Regions from separate parts of the Homo sapiens genome. Here all the other regions are linked to region 3. Evidence: promoter capture Hi-C in human tissues and cell types (Jung and others, 2019). All regions are on one chromosome and are shown on one strand. Each heading gives the region's core, a stretch centred on a gene start or on the middle of the fragment in contact. The rest is flanking DNA. Distances are from core to core; before and after follow the strand shown. Region 1 holds the start of DESI1 (desumoylating isopeptidase 1). Region 2 has its middle 15 kb from the start of LINC01315. Region 3 holds the start of CENPM (centromere protein M).

Evidence for each region. Contacts are between HindIII fragments. The study calls those that stand out against the background at their distance.
Region 1: the fragment with the promoter of DESI1 here is called in contact with the fragment with the promoter of CENPM in region 3 in 1 of the 25 tissues and cell types used here (dorsolateral prefrontal cortex).
Region 2: a contact is called between a fragment that was not itself captured here and the fragment with the promoter of CENPM in region 3, in 1 of the 25 tissues and cell types used here (lymphoblastoid cells).

Annotation. Positions count from the first base shown.
Region 1 is chr22:41,619,619-41,622,384 of GRCh38, reverse strand. It overlaps DESI1 (desumoylating isopeptidase 1), which reads left to right and starts at 1,342. Exons shown (of 6, transcript NM_015704.3): 1 at 1,342-1,633. The coding sequence starts at 1,546. XRCC6 (X-ray repair cross complementing 6) reads right to left here and starts at 1,090. Exons shown (of 13, transcript NM_001469.5): 1 at 1,040-1,090; 2 at 299-395. The coding sequence starts at 380. RefSeq lists a silencer at 1,322-1,591 and an enhancer at 1,323-1,924. The HindIII fragment of the contact is 13,467 bases long and covers 1-2,766 here.
Region 2 is chr22:42,352,393-42,355,092 of GRCh38, reverse strand. No RefSeq gene overlaps it. Among named protein-coding and RNA genes, the nearest start is that of LINC01315, 15 kb to the left of the region's middle. The HindIII fragment of the contact is 5,752 bases long and covers 1-2,700 here.
Region 3 is chr22:41,945,804-41,948,503 of GRCh38, reverse strand. CENPM (centromere protein M) reads left to right here and starts at 1,352. Exons shown (of 6, transcript NM_024053.5): 1 at 1,352-1,484; 2 at 2,008-2,087; 3 at 2,499-2,591. The coding sequence starts at 1,428. It also overlaps a transcript of SMIM45 not described here. RefSeq lists an enhancer at 1,339-1,548. The HindIII fragment of the contact is 14,723 bases long and covers 1-2,700 here.

The DNA of each region.
Region 1 (2,766 bases), core at 93-2,592, 330 kb after region 3:
GAGAAGGGTCTCACCTGAACCACTTAAGATGACAAAAAATACCTATGGTCATGGCCATTTATCAGGGACCAAAAGATGTCAAACTACCAGTGTCCAAAAAAAACTTAGGGCACACTAGAGTAAGATCTGCATATAAGAGCCTAGGGTAGCTCTGCGAAGTTCAAAGGAAGAAAAGAATTTCAGAATTATCTGGGAGGAGAAGGGCAGGCCATCAAACAGCAAAGTCCATCCAGCAGAGATAGGCAGGGAAGGTCTTTCTTCCACACACCGAATGGCACTACATGCTGAAGTCACTTACCACTTGCTTCAAGGTTCTCTTCTTGTTCTTCCTCTGCTTCTTCATCGCCCTCGGTTTTGTAATATGACTCCCACCCTGACATGTTGGCTACTGCTCACTAGGCGAAAGACGTTAACGTCAGTAACAGGCAAATTTAAATCGAAAAAATACCGACCTCTAGGTTCTTGTGAGATCTGTTCTAAAAGCTTGGTTAGTAGTGAGGAATGTGGACGGTAAATCCTGCTGCCTCGAAAGCTCGGCAGTCGGACTGCATGTAAATGCGCATGGGGGCCATCCCAGTAGCTGCCTCATCTCAGCTATCCCTCACGTTTCAGGGCCGGCGGCGGCCCGCGGAAGCCAGATCCCGGAGGTCCCGCCCCCGACGCCATTTAGACGGTGAGGGATTCCCGCTCCAGGATTCTATGCTGACTAACGGACCCCCTCGTCCTCAATACCGCCCAAAAACCTCCCCAAATTCCTCAATCACGCCCAATGAGATCTCAAACGCAGACAGGCCTCAAGCGCAGGCGGGCCGCAAGCGCAGGCGGGCCTCAAACGCAGGCGGGCCTCAAACGCGAGGTGCCGCCTCCTTCCCGAGGAAGGAGCGTGGTCTCGAGTCTGTCGCTGCTCCTCGGATTCGCACACTTAAGGCTAACGCTAACCCTCTAGCAAGGCTATGGGGGCGCGCGAGACCGACCGAGCGAAGCGGGACGAGGCCAGGCCTAGCTGGCGAACAACACAAATGGATAACGGCCCGCTTACCTTTGGCGCAGGGAAGCGACCAACTTGGACAGAAGACGACAATCCACGCATGCGCGGGCCCTGTACTCGGTCCCAATCAACGCCCTCTACGTCATCACGCATGTGCGCACTATATCGCGTCAGGCTGGCACGCACACTCCCCAACCAGCTTCTACCTATGTCCCTGACGAAAGCCAACCCATCAGCGAGAGCCCCGCCCCCTTCGGCAAAGCCCCGCCCCTTCCTACGTCAGGACTGTAAGCACATGCGCAAAAGTGCATCCCTGCCCCCGCCCCCTCTTCCGTGTGGGCCCTCCCTGTCCCCTCTCTGTCACCTCACAGTAGTCGTTGCCGGTAGCGGGTGTGGGGGCGCGAGCAGCGCAGGGCGGCCTCTCCCCCACCCCTCAGCCCGGGCCCGGGCTCGGTCCCCCCCTCTCCCTCCGCTTCGCACTCCCGTCGGGTACGGGAAGGTCCAAGCCGCTGCCGGGTGCCCGAGGGCCGTCGTGGCCGCCGTCGCCACGGGTCCCAATGGAGCCGCCGAATCTCTATCCGGTGAAGCTCTACGTGTACGACCTGTCCAAAGGCCTGGCCCGGCGGCTCAGCCCCATCATGCTGGGTGAGGGGGAAGGGGCCAGGTGGGCAGGAGGGCGGGAGCCAGGCCAGAGGGTGGCGGCTGGCCGAGGTGGGGAGACTTGGGCCACGACTCACGGGGAGACACATGGCCAGGAGGATGGAAGAAAAGCCGAGTGGAGAAGAGAGTGGTCTGAAGTTTGGGCCATCTGAGCCCCGCTTTAGCCTCGCAGATACCATCCTCACGTTTGAATTCAAGGGGAAGGGATGGAGGAGTCATGCCTCCACCTTGCAGGGGGCTTGGGCAGAAACCGAGCCCTCGAGAGCCCCTTCGACGAGGGTGTGGGGTAAACCAGCGCTGGATCCCGGCGGGTTCTCTGCCTCGCTCGGGTAGCCCAGTGCACTCCTGCCTCCTTGGCGCGGTGTAGGAAAGGTGAGGATGCCTGCCGCGCGGTGCCCCTCGTGGTGACAGAGACACTGCGGAGGTCGGGTGGCTCTCGGAGAACCTTGTCTCAGTGCCAAAAGGAAGCTCCCTTTGCAGTCCCAGGGATAGGTGGGATGGGGGAGATAGAGCTGCCTAGGGACCCAGCCATCGCCCCCAGGTAGGTCAAGTCAGGATAAGAGGAGCCCCGAACTCCAGAATTCACCAAGCAGTCTTCTCCCCACAGTTTCTAAGTTAATTGCTTTTGCTCAAATGGCAAGAAAGCAGTTTTGGGGGAAGTTTGGATGAGGCTGTGTGAATAAGGATTAGTAAAGAAAGTATTTCGGTTGTGCTCCATTAAACTACTTAACTGGCAGGAGAAAAACCAGCCCTCATTCAGTGACGATCACACCTTATTTCAACTTAAATACAGGAATGTCTTGTGTAACACAGGAATTGTCAGGTTTGTAATTTCGGGTAACAATGAGCAGGAAAGAATTCCAATTATTGAAAATTGAAGCTTTGACAGCATCCATTTGAATGGCTAGTTTTTCCTGGCTTCTGTGGAGACACTGGCGAATGATTTAGTTCATCTCTGTGAGACGAGGGGGCAGAGATCAAGTAAGGGAGGCTACTTTTGAGGGCATCCTTCAATGTCCTTGAGTTTCTAATATGTCGTAGTGAATTGAACTTAATCTCACAACCGTGGGTCCATGAGTTGTTTCTATATTTGGCTTCACATCAAAATCATCTAGGGT
Region 2 (2,700 bases), core at 140-2,639, 410 kb before region 3:
AAGCCTGGACCTCAGAGAGATTTGTTTTTTTGTTTTTGTTATTTTATTTATTAATTTATTTATTTATTTTGAGATGGAGTCTCACTCAGTCACCCAGGCTGGAGTGCAGTGGCACTATCTCGGCTCACTGCAACCTCCGCCTCCCGGGTTCAAGCAATTCTTGTGCCTCAGCCTCCCAAGTAACTGGGATTACAGGCATGTGCCACCACGCCCAGCTAATTTTTGTATTTTTAGTAGAGATGGGGTTTCACCATGTTTGCCAGGCTGGTCTCAAACTCCCGACCTCGTGATCTGTCTACCTCAGCCTCCCAAAGTGCTGGGATTATAGGTGTGAGCCACTGCACCCGGCTGAGGTTCATTTATTCATTCACTCATTCATTCATATTGCACATGTCTTTGGAGCATCTAATGTGAGCCCTATAGGCCCCATGCTCTGTGCAGGGGACACAACAGTGGACAAAACAGACAACACCCCTGCCCCGCTGTAGATCACATTCCAATGGACAGAAACAGACAAAAAACATAATAAGGAAGCAACAGGTATTGTGATCAAGAATGCTAAGTGCTAAGGAGAAAAATAAAACAGGGAAGGGCAGAAAGGGGATACATTTGTTTTTTTCAATTATAAATAGGTGTCCATGGAAGGTCTCATTGAGAAAGTGGCATCTGAGCAAAGACAGGAAGCGGGTGAGGAGGTGAGAAGGTAGCTCTGGGGGAAGAGCATTCCTTCCAGGCAGAGAGCAAAGGCCCTGAGTGGGGAGCGTGCCTGGCACAGTCGGGGAGTAACAGGAGCCAATGTGGCTGCAGGGAAGTGGCGGGGAGGAGGTGGCAGATGAGCTCAGAGAGGAAATGGGGGCCAGATGGTGAGGCCTCCTGGACGCACCATTTAAAAGGATCCCTCTGGCTGCTGAGTTGGGAATAGACTGGGGGAGGGGCCAGGGCAGGACAGGGAGACAGAGAGGAGGCTCTGAAAAGAATCTAACAGGATTTGCTGATGGATTGGATGCAGGAGAGAGGGAGTGAGCAGAGGCGTCAAGGATGATTCCCGAGAGATCTGGTCAATTTGGCTGGAAGGCCAGCCGGGCCTACAGGCTCAGCTGAGGCCCTTAGGGAGGCTGGAGGACAAGGATGCCAAATGGTCAGATGCCCATGGCCAAGTGGGGGTTCCAGCTTGGCAACCCTGTGGTTCGGAGAGCTGGGGACCTCTGCACCCCGGCAGTTCATGGGACTATGTGGATCCCATCCTGGCCTCTCTGAGCTCTGGACTAGGGGCTGGGCCTAAAGTGGCCCATGGGTGGCTGGGCGAGGTGGCTGATGCCTGTAATCCCAGCACTTTAAGAGGCCGAGGCCGGCGGATCACTTCAGGTCAGGAGTTCGAGACCAGCCTGGCCAACATGGTGAAACCCTGTCTCTACTAAAAATACAAAAATTAGGCAGGTGTAGTGGCAGGCACCTGTAATCCCAGCTACTTGGGAGGCTGAGGCAGTCAGGAGAATCGCTTGAATCTAGGAGACGGAGATTGCAGTGAGCTGAGATCGTACCACTGCACTCCAGCCTGGGCAACAGAGAGACATTCTTTCTCAAAAAAAAAAAAAAAAGTGGCCCATGGGCTGGTATGAATCCCCCCACCCACCCACTCACCCCCAGATATCTCCCACCCTCCTTCCTGTCCTCCCTCCTTCCTTCCCTACTCTCCATGCCCATCCCTCTTCTCACCCTTCCCCCAACCCCACCTTGGCACCCAGACAAGAGATCCCAGGTGCTGGGGCCACATCCGTGAACATGACAGACAGGGTCCCTGTTCTCCAGGACTTTGACATTGTGTGTCTGAGCCTGGGACAACTTCTCAACCGGGTGCACAATACAATCTTTCTGATTTAAGGTCTTTTTTTAAAATTATTAAATAAAATTGTTTTAAGAAACAGGGTCTCACTCTGTCACCCAGGTTGAAGCGCAGTGGTGTGATCACAGCTCACTGCAGCCTTGAACTCCTGGGCTCACGGGATCCTCCCACCTCAGCCTCCTTAATAGCTGGGACTACAGGTGTGCACCACCATGTCCCACTATGATTGTTACATATTTCTATGTCATTTAAAATAAAGTCACTATCAAAAAAAACTGGCCAACCACAGTGGCTCATCCCTGTAATCCCATCACTTTGGGAGGCTGAGGCGGGAGGATCACTTGAGCTCAGGAGTTCAAGACCAGCCTGGGTGACATACGGAGAGCCCGTCTCTACAAAAAATTTAAAAATTAGCCAGGTGTGGTGGTGTGCACCTGTAGTCCCAGCTATTCAGGAGGCTAAGGTGGGAGAATCCCTTGAGCCCAGGAGTTTGAGGTTGCAGTGAGCTATGATTGCACCGCTGCACTCCAGCCTGGGCAACAGAGAGAGAACCTGTCTCTAAAAAGTGTTTTTTTTTAAATTTTTTTTAATTAAATGAACTAAAAGAAAAAATTCCTGGTCCAGCCACATCCCCTGGTTTGGGTTCCAGCAAAGACTACTAGAGTGGCGACCCCCTGCTGCTGAGGCCCACTGGGGAAGGGAGCTAGGGGCAGGGCATCTGGGGTGGGAAGTGTGGCAGGAGCAAGGGCACAGAGCAGAGAAGAGTGTGCGGGATGGGATGGGAGTGAAGGAACCGGGCGGGCGCAGGGGAGGCTGCAAAGCCAAGTGGACTGGCCCTGGAGGGTCTCATGGGCCTG
Region 3 (2,700 bases), core at 103-2,602:
CTTTCTGAGCAAGACACAGTTAGTTTAGTCTGCAGTAAGAAGGATTTAGGCTAGACAGTGTCTCTGCTCTCCCAGTTATTACAACAATGAACACACTGTTATCATTGTCTATCCCACCCCCATCAAACTAAGTTAATCAATAATGTCTGATTCAACTGACTTCCTAGGGTAGGGCATTGGGTCTGGGCATAGGAAATGATGAATGAATGACTGCTGAGAATGAATGGATGAATGTAATCCATCCATTCACTCAACAAATATTTATTAACTACGATGTACCAGGGACTTTTAGAGTGCTGGACATACAAAGTGACAAAGTCTCTAACCTCTTGTTTCTTACATTTTAGATGTAGAGACAGTGAACAAGTTATTATATAACTGTTGGCAGAACCAGTTTGCTATGGGCCCTGAGCGTCCCTGCATGTTCTTGCTGGGTATGTCAAGAAAGCAAGACCCTGACAGCTCTGTACTCAGGCTGTGTTTGCAGCAAGGAACCTTGAAAGATGAGGTAAAGTCTCCCATTGGACAAAGAACAGCATGCTTACCACTCACTGTAAAAGCAGTCAATTGGCAGGGCCTGCTGGTGTGCAGCGGTAGTCCCAGCTACTCAGGAGGCTGAAGCAGGAGGGCTGCTTGAGGCCAGGAGTTTACGACCCACCTGGGCAACATGGCCAGATCCCCATGGTGGCACTTGCCTGTAGTTCCAGCTACTCAGGAGGCTAAGCCAGGAAGATGACTTGAGCCCAGGAGTTTGAAGCTGTAGTGAGCTATGATCGTGTCACTATAGTCCAGCCTGGGCAACAAAGTGACGCTCCAAAAAAAAAAAAAAAAAAAGGGCCAGGCACGGTGGCTCACGTCTGTAATCTCAGCACTCACTTTGGGAGGCCGAGGCGGGATCACTTGAGGCCAGGAGTTTGAGACCGGCCTGGGCAACTTGGAGAAACCCCGTCTCTACTAAAAATAAAAAAATAAGTCGGGCGTGGTGACGCGCGCCCGTAGTCCCAGCTCCTTGGGAGGCTGAGGCAGGAGAATCGCTTAAACTCGGGAGGCAGAAGTTGCAGTGAGCCGAGATTGCGCGCATTGCACTCCAGCCTGGGCCACAAAGCGAGACTCTGTCTCAAAAAAAAAAAAAAAAAGTACTGTGTATGAGCATGAATGAATGAAAGTGAACAAAGGAATCACTAAAAACCTGCTTACTGTGGAGCGTGGAACCAAAGGCCTGTCCACCACGTGTTCCACGGGTAGCGCTGGAACGCCCCTCAGAAAAGGAGATAAAGGTTCGGTTCCTTTAAGAGGCCCCGTCCCGTCCCGCGAAGCCCCGCCTATAAGGAGGCACGTGCCCCCAGGCCGCGCTCTAGGGGCTGGACTCAGGGCGGTTTGAAAGATCGGCGCGCACCGCAGGAGCAACGGTTGGTCCTGCGGCTGTGATGTCGGTGTTGAGGCCCCTGGACAAGCTGCCCGGCCTGAACACGGCCACCATCTTGGTAGGTGCAGGCGGCCCTGCTTCCCCCGCCGGTTTTTCCTCCTGGGCGGTGCTTCAGCCACTAGGTCAACTGAGCTCTCTGAGGCGCCAAGCCAGCGCGCGCTACCGTGGCGGGGGCGGGGAATAGGCGGAGAGCCATGCTCTGAACCAATTGGAGTAGCCGCTCTCTGAGGTTGAGGGACGCACCCACCAATAGGTGCTCGGCGGACCCTTTCCCAGCTTCTGATTGGCGAGTTCCCGCGCCTGGAATTGGTTTTCCCGCGTCTGGGGGTCTGGCCTCCTGGAGAGGCCGGCGGTGGGAGCGAGGGTCGGGTAGTAGAGAGTGCGGTGCCCACAGGCCTGCAGCGGGTCCAAACCTCAGGCCCCCAGCCCGTGCCGCTTCGCGGGGTCCACTTCTCGGGAAATGTCCTCCGAGCCGCCTGCTGGCGGTGTCCCGATCCCCCCGGGAGTGGGTCGAAGGGCCAGGCCCTCCCCAGGGGGTGCTGTGCCTAGGGCTCGACTGTCCGCTCTCTCTCCCTGCGCAGCTGGTGGGCACGGAGGATGCTCTTCTGCAGCAGCTGGCGGACTCGATGCTCAAAGAGGACTGCGCCTCCGAGCTGAAGGTGTAAGTAGCCGCGGCTGTGGCCTGGGCCCACGTGTCTCTCACTCCAGAGGGATTCGGTCCTAGCTGCTAAACTCCGAAGCCCAGCGCCCCCTCCTCTGAGGCTGGTCCTTCTCCCAGCATGCAGCGTAGCTGGCTAGTCCCATGCCGTCTTATATCCCAACCTCCCCTTGCCGAGGTGGTGACTAAACAGAGCCCGTTTCTGGCAGAGGGAATCAGACAGGAGTAATCTGAATAGGACCGGACCTGTCCTGCCTCTGTGCTGGCCCAAGGAGTCGTGGCCACAAGAGCCTCGGGTGGCTAGGATGAGGTGGGGAGCCCTTGACGGCCTCTTTCCACATGAAGGGCAGCATTTAAACGGTCGCTATGAGGGGGGTACGGATATCTTGAGTCCTGCAATTTCCTGTTTTTCAGCCACTTGGCAAAGTCCCTCCCTTTGCCCTCCAGTGTGAATCGGCCCCGAATTGACCTGATCGTGTTTGTGGTTAATCTTCACAGCAAATACAGGTGAGAGCCAGAGGAAGGGGCAGTCAGGGCTCAGGCAGGCCTGGCTCAGGACTGTGCTGAGACGGTGACCTAACTTGTGATGGGAAGTGGTGAGGATGGGAGAGGCTGG